Regions from separate parts of the Homo sapiens genome. Here region 2 is linked to region 1. The links are contacts of gene promoters, found by promoter capture Hi-C in human tissues and cell types (Jung and others, 2019). All regions are on one chromosome and are shown on one strand. The core of a region is centred on a gene start or on the middle of the fragment in contact, and the rest is flanking DNA. Distances in the headings are between cores, read along the strand shown. Region 1 holds the start of BTNL9 (butyrophilin like 9). Region 2 overlaps BTNL3 (butyrophilin like 3).

Region 1 (3,994 bases), core at 1,029-3,528:
CTTCTCTGCATCTTCTTCACCCTTCACTTGTCTGTGTACCTCATGACCTCATTCTTCCTGGAGGCAGGACAAGAACTCAGGTGCCACAGAGGTTTCTGGGAAGAAAATTGACACCCAAAAATCCCACACAAGGACAGATGAGGGTCCATTCTCTCCAGTGGCACCTATAGTCCGCCAGGGGTTCAGCACCTACCTTCATTTTGGATCTGAGCCTTTATGCATTTACTGGGTCTTGGAATGGGAGGTTCGGCTGGCAGGGACAGCCGCTGTCTACATCTTTCCTACTGCATGATGCGCCTGATATGCAGGCGGTGGTGGCAGGTGGGGTCCCCCTCCCACATCCCACCAGGGCTGTGTCTAGGAGCCACAGAAGTGGACTCTGCCCATTTCTCTCTCTCTTTGCATTTCTGCTGTGACAATCTCACCTCTCCCCAGGCAGCATGGAGGAATCCAACCTAAGGGCAATGAAAAGTTTAGGCCATGTTCTCGTTTTCGAGCAGCCCCTCTCTACAAGTGCAATTTTCCTTCTCTTTCACTTCCCTATGTGGCATGCAAGGGCCTCTGCAATGTGGTCCCATCCACTTCTGTTCAACCTTCCCTTCCACTAGTGAGCCACACACTGGTCTGGCTAACCCCTAGCCTTTTCCTACCTCCCACATGCTAATCACCTCCCTCCACGAAGAATGTCTGTCCTCGCAGGCTCTGTCCTCCCGGGCTGCCCATGGCTTCCCTGATCCTACTGTTTATGCAGCATCCATCTTAAGTATACCCTGTCCTTGAGCCCTCCTCTGTCTCCCCAGGCCCGGGGAACTGCACCCACTGTTTGAGCTCACTGTTCAGCCCCTTTTGCTGTCCTAGGGACATCTGTTCACATTAATAAGCCTGGGTGCCCAGTCTCACCAGCCTGTCTGAGCACAGACAGTCACCTCCAGGTCCATGCCTGAAGCTTGCTGGCTCCCGTCTCCCACCCATGTAGCGCCCTGTCACCTGCAGAGGCCCCTCTACAAACACAGGCACTTCTGGGAGTCCCTGGGGTGTGCTACTGAGGCAGAAAATTTAAAAATACATATGCCTTCATTCACTCCAAGAAAAGTAACAGGCAAGGCAAGGGTTAAAAAGTAAAGGACAAGTTTTCCTCTGCCTATAGCAAGCCCACTGCAAGGACAGTTATAACAGTGTCCAGAAAGCCAAGGCCAAAGGAATGGGCTCCAGATACCCGCCGCCCCACTTCCAGAGCAAGGTTGAAGGAAAAAGAGAGAAAGACAAATTCTTTTACTGTTACTGTTTTCCCAGGCTTCTTAAGCATGATTGTGTTTTACAAATGTCTGTACTTAGCCAGTTCTTGTTTTTCTTTCAATGCAGCTACAAAGTCACCCGCTGTGCAAGGCCACAAGTTATGCTATGCTATAGATTATGTGACCTATCATGATTAGCTGCTTTTGTTTTATTTATTGTAAGTCCACTTACAAAAACCCCGCTCTGTCTTTGTTTAATGCTCAGCTTTTTGGATGTGAGTCCACTGAGCCGGTGTGTACCTAAAATAAACAATCCTCCTGTTCTTCACATCGGTCTCTCCGGTCCTCAGTTTCCCACAACACTGCATGTGCTTGAGCTGCTCGTGCCTCAGCTCTGGCCTGTTCCCTGGAGGGGACGTCAGTGTGGGCTGCAGCTGGGTGGCTGGTGCCTCAGTCCGCTAATGCCCAAGTTGCACCATGGCCTACAGTAAGATGGGGTGGGCTGGGCTGGGGTAGTGCTTGCTGCTTCTTTTCTGACCTCTTCTCCACTAGAGAAATCCCAATCCAGCACCCTCCTGCATTTCTAAGTTGCACGTGAACAGGTTTTGCAGGTTGCCTCACGACAATGCCCCCAGGATTTGTTCCTTACTGACCTTGTCCTGAGGAGAAGGTTATGGTGGGTTAAAAATTGGTCATCAGCCCCTTCCTCGTGGTTAGTTAGTGGAGACTGCAGTCTACTCTCTTTCACTGTTCGGGGACTGCTACCCTGCCTCCTTGGAGTCCGAGCTTCACTGGCACAAAGACCCTGAACCCAGCTGGAGCGTTTTCTCCTCACTTTGAGCCTCTGCAGCTGTCGCTCTCTACAAAGCTCTCAGATACCTTTCCCCTCCTTCTGTGACCCTGGAGAGATATTTTACATGGGAATTCAAGATTTTTCTCAGAGACAGGATGTGACGACTTCCTTGTTTTGTTCTATCCATCTTGGTTTCCATAGCCAAGGGCAGAGCAAACGGCATATATCTTAGGGTGGAAGATGGATAAATAATTCTGTCACACGTGCCCTGGCCTCTGGAGCTCAGCTGCCAGTCCACGTCTAGGGAATCTTAGCATCTGGGACCAAGACACTTTACAGCAATCATCACCCTTTGCAGAGGAGGTGAGCTCACCAGGACTCATCTGCCATTTCAGACCTTTTGCTGCTACCTGCCAGGTAAGTGGCTCATTCTCAACAGCTGCCTACACCTCCATCTTTCAGAAACGGCAATCAGAAAATGAAGGTGGGAGGCTTTGGGAAGGCGTACAATTAGTGGCACCATTTTATTATCCGAGCTTGGCCGCAGCATGGGATGTTTCGAGTGTGGCCAAGAGGAGATGTCCACGCCCGTTTAGGTGGGCCGCATCTCAGGAGGCAGGATCCTGATACATCCCATTGCCCCCACCAGACGAAAAAGATTTCAAGCCTCATTGCGGTTCCCTTCTTGGGGCAGTCCATCTTCCTTAGAGACTAAGAGGGTGGAAATCCTCTTGTGGACCTATCGAAATCAAACCAGCGCAGGCAGTGAGCACTAGCTGGGGTCTGCCGGGGGGAAGGGCATTGCAGGGGGTGTCGGGGAGGCCCGTGGGAGAGGGCCAAGGCCCCACTGACACCTGCGGACTTGCAGCTTGGGGAGTGGAGGACAGGAGACAGGCAAAATTCACCAGTTACACAGCTTACAGAAGTAGCAAAGCAAAGACTATACTTCAGGGATAATTTCTGTACTTTGTTACTAGAGAAGTTTTCCACTCTGGGACCCCACAGTCTCCGCAGACATATGCAGAGCAAAAAATACTTCCTGTGTTTGGGAGAGCAAGAGACATGGCATTTATTAATAACATGGATTTTCCTGCCAGGTTTCATAACGTGGTCATTTAAGTGTGAAATGTAGTCTTAAAATTATGTTAGAGAATCCCCAAGGTTTTGCTCTGCCCCCATGGAAACACTGGGATCGCTCAGGACGCCAACAGCTGCATAGCAGGCGAGGGACTCCTGTGGGAGGACGTGGCCTGTGGACACTGCCAGGTTCGGAGATGTCCTTGGGAGATTTACTATTTGTCAGGAAGATAGTGTTAAGTTCAGGCAAATAATTATATGTGTGGACAGAATCTGAAATTCACCAATAGAGTAAGTAAGAGTGAGAGATTGTGAATGTGTAATACAAATGGAAAAGCAGGTTTTATTTTGTTAAGTTATTCACCAGGGAACCAACTGAAGTTCCTTCTAATCCTCTTTTTCTCCATTCTTGCTTTGCTGAAAGTTGGAGAAAAGGACATGTGTAGAGAAAATGGGATGCTTCAGGGTGGCTCAGAGGACACCAATCCATAGTGATTCGCCTGAGTTTGTCAGGTGGAAGCAGTGATTTTTAAGAGTCACTGATTAAAAACAAACAGTCCTAAGTGTATTAGGGAGATGCCATTTATTTGTGAATCAAAAACTTTTCTCAGTCTCTTAAATTATGGTTTTCCTGTAATAAGAATGATTTATATTTTTAGTGAAAAGTTGTTTTCCTTTCAAATACAGACTTTTTAAAAAGACTTAGTTTGAGTAAGTACCTTTTCATTTGATGCTTTTCTTGTGCCTAACCTTAGGAAATCCAGAATAGTATTTGACAGAAATTATGTTTTCAACTTGCCTTTGACATCTGTCCCACTGCATTTTGCTTTAAAATTCTTTATTTAACAATAAATTATCTAAAAAAATAACAGTAGCAAAGCAAAAAGTA
Region 2 (3,994 bases), core at 1,154-3,653, 39 kb before region 1:
GCTGAATATTGATATTAGGCATCAATATATATTTCAGAAAACAGCAAAAGAAAGTGGAAGAAATCCTAAAGATATAGAAATATGGAAATATAAAGACAAATAGTGCACATTAATACATCTAAAGTTAGACGGTTCGAAGTGTTATTAAAATAGATAAACTGGCAACATCAGTTAAGAATAAAAGAGAAACAGCACAATTAAACAAGGCAGGAAATAACAAGAAGGCACAACTAAAGATTTAGTAGAGATTTGTAAGATAAACTGCTTTGAATAACTTTTTCCTTTTCTATTGAATATGATGAAGTGAAAGTTTTCATAGAAAAATGTAAAATACAGGACAGGCGCAGTGGCTCATGCCTGTAGTCCCAGCAGTGTGGAAGGCTGAGGCGGGCAGATCGCTTGAGGTCAGGAGTTTGAGACCAGCCTGCCCAACATGGCGAAACCCCATCTCTACTAAAAATACAAAAATTAGCTGGGCGTGGTGGTGTGTGTCTGTAATCCCAGCTACTCTGGAGGCTGAGGCTGGAGAATCACTTAAATCCAGGAGACAGAGATTGCAGTGAGCTGAGATCGCCCCACTGTACTCCAGCCTGGGGGACAGAGTGAGACTTTGTCTCAAAAATTTTTAAAAAAGAAGAAAAACGTAAAATACAAAATCCGAAGGAAAGATAGACTACCTGACTAATTTGTAACCATGAAAGAGGTGGACTCAGCATTTAAAAGTCTTCCCACAAGGAAGACACAAGGCCCACATTGTTTTATATACAAAGTCTACCAAATATTCAAGAAAAGAGAAAATGTATCTTTCAGAAAGTCGGCCAGAGAGCAGAAAAATAGGAAATATTAAACTCATTTTATTGAGTCAACATAATTTTGGTATCATAAGAGAAATGGGCAATTCAAAAAAGGAAAAATTTTTACCAACATTACTCATAATTGAAAATGTAAAAATCTTACCAAAAATTTTGCAAGTAGAAAAGTCCACAAAAACATATATCATGACCAAACTTATCCTGGAAAAAAATGTTAGGTCAACATGGGAACATATATTAATGTAATTATAACATAATTCGTTAAAAGAGATAAACTATAATTTTCTTAGTAGATGTAAATAAAACAGATAACTTTCTACATCTATTCATCATGATTTCAACACTTGCAAATCTAGAAATAGAAGAAAATTTTTTTTATCAATCTAGAAATAGGAGAGACTCTGCTTAATCTGATAAAAAGATATCTAAAGATACTTGCAGCAAACATCATACAAAATAATAAGCCACCTAATTTTTTAAATACATACCGAAAACATTATACATAATGTGTCATTTAAAATCATAACATAGGCCGGGCGCGGTGGCTCACGCCTGTAATCCCAGCACTTTGGGAGGCCGAGGCAGGTGGATCATGAGGTCAGGAGATCGAGACCATCCTGGCTAACAAGGTGAAACCCCGTCTCTACTAAAAATACAAAAAATTAGCCGGGCGCGGTGGCGGGCGCCTGTAGTCCCAGCTACTCGGGAGGCTGAGGCAGGAGAATGGCGTGAACCCGGGAAGCGGAGCTTGCAGTGAGCCGAGATTGCGCCACTGCAGTCCGCAGTCCGGCCTGGGCGACAGAGCGAGACTCCGTCTCAAAAAAAAATAAAATAAAATAAAAAAATAAAATAAAATAAAATAAAATCATAACATAAGGAGATTGCATTAAACACTTCTGTTCCACATTATATTAGAGTACTGTTACTATTAGCAGCCACTTCAATAAGGGAAGAAAATGTAAAAGTTATAACTTTTAGAAAGAAAAAAATTAAATGGCCATTGTTCACAGTTTATATGATGATATAAACGGAAAATTTAGAAAAATTTACAGACAAATTCTTTCAACTCATAAAGGAATCCATCGTGTTCATGAAAAATGAGAGGAATAAACAAAATCTAATAAAATGTTTACAAAATCTTATTGAAGGGTATTATAAAACTGTATTAAAAGACACTAATGAAAACTAAAATAAGAGAACAAACATAACACCTTTCAGATAAGAAGATGCATGTTTTTAAAGATACCAGTTCTCCTAGAATTGCTGTACAGATTCAATACAATTCCATAGAAAAATCTCAGCACATTTTTTGGTTTGTTTGTTTTTTGAGATGAGCTGTCACTCTGTCACCCATGCTGGAGTATAGTGGTGCAATCATGGCTCATTGCAACCTCAATTTCCCATGCTCAAGCAATCCTCCCACCTCAGCCTCCCAAGTAGCTGGGACCACAGGTGTGCACCACCATGCCTGGCTAATTTTTTTTAATTTTAAATATTTTTATAGATGGGGGGGGGTCTCACTTTGTTGCCTAGACTGGTCTCGAACTCCTGTCCTTAAGAAATCCTCCCGGCCAGGCGCGGTGGCTCATGCCTGTAATCCCAGCACTTTGGGAGGCCGAGACGGGAGGATCACGAGGTTAGGAGATCGAGACCATCCTGGCTAACATGGTGAAACCCCATCTCTACTAAAAATACAAAAAATTAGCTAGGCGTGGTGGCGGGCGCCTGTAGTCCCAGCCACTCAGGAGGCTGAGGAAGGAGAATGGCGTGAACCCGGGAGGCAGAGGTTGCAGTGAGCCGAGATCGCGCCACTGCACTCCTCCCTGGGCAACAGAGCGAGACTCTGTCTCAACAAAACAAAACAAAACAAAACAAAACAAAGAAATCTAAAGGAGAAAAGAATAAACATTACCTTTAAAAAAAAAAAGAAATCCTCCCACTTTGGCCTCCCAAACTGCTGGGTTTATAGGCATGAGCCACTGCACCTGGCCCAGAGTTTTCTTAAAGCCTAACAAGTCAATTCCAAAGTTTATGTGGCAAAACAAATAGCCAAGAATTGCTAAGATACAGTGGAATAAGAGCAAGCTAAGAAGCTTAGTCTTATCTCAGAGACATATCCCAAAGCTTTGAAGATTAAGCCAATTAAAATTATTGGCACAGAGATAACCCTATGGATCAATGAGAGAGAACAAAGAGCCCAGAAACAAATCCAAGCTTGAACATGAGGTACACAGAGGTGACCTTGCATGTGTGGCAGTGTGTAAAGCAAGGTCCACTCAACAAACATTGCCAGCACAGTCAACACCTGCTTAGAAGAAGATGACATTGAACTTCTGCCTCATTAGACATAGACACACACACACACACACACACGTGTGTGTGTATATATATATATATATATATATATATGAAATCCAGATGGATCAAGACTTATAAAGAAATGCAAAGCTTTAACGCGCACACACACACACACGTGAATATATATATATATATATATATATATATATATATGAAATCCGGATGGATCAAGATGTTTATAGAAATGCAAAGCTTTAAATCTGTGGAAGAAATGAGAGAAAAATGTTTTCATCTTGGGGTACTGGGGGATTCCTTAAATGGGCGTAAAATTGTCTTACCTGCTTAGCTATCACTAAGGGTCTGTGGGACTGTTTTTCAGAGACGTTTTTCCAGCCCTCACCTTGGCGCCTGGCTTCTATTTTACTCGGGTTACTCTGTGGTGCCCTGTGTGGTGTTGTCATGGGGATGATAATTGTTTTCTTCAAATCCAAAGGTAAGTGAGAGAGAGAAGCATGGGCCCATACCTTCTTCATGGTTCCAGTGGAGCTGATATCAGGCTGCCCTCACACACCTCTGGGCTCTGCTCTTCCAGCCCTAGGCCTACAGGGGCCACCAGCTGAGGCACAGGGAACCCAGTCTTCAGCCTCCTCTGTGCTGGCCTGAAATGGCTCCTTCAGAAAATGCCAGCCTCTGCCAATCCCTTTCTACTTTACATGGAGCACAGGATAAGCAGATAATTGATTTTCAGTACATAAAGAGTTCACATAAATTTCTACCAACAGGCTGAGTGCCGTGGCTCGTGTCTGTAATCCCAGCACTTTGGGAGGCCGATGTGGGAGGATCACTTGAGCCCAGGAGTGTAAGACCATCCTGGGCAACATGGC

What was found. Contacts are between HindIII fragments. The study calls those that stand out against the background at their distance.
Region 2: a contact is called between a fragment that was not itself captured here and the fragment with the promoter of BTNL9 in region 1, in 5 of the 25 tissues and cell types used here (bladder, lymphoblastoid cells, mesenchymal stem cells and 2 more).

Annotation. Positions count from the first base shown.
Region 1 is chr5:181,037,988-181,041,981 of GRCh38, forward strand. It overlaps BTNL9 (butyrophilin like 9), which reads left to right and starts at 2,279. Exons shown (of 11, transcript NM_152547.5): 1 at 2,279-2,445. The HindIII fragment of the contact is 13,573 bases long and covers 474-3,994 here.
Region 2 is chr5:180,999,183-181,003,176 of GRCh38, forward strand. BTNL3 (butyrophilin like 3) reads left to right here. Exons shown (of 8, transcript NM_197975.3): 4 at 3,490-3,603. Among named protein-coding and RNA genes, the nearest start is that of BTNL3, 12 kb to the left of the region's middle. The HindIII fragment of the contact is 3,918 bases long and covers 445-3,994 here.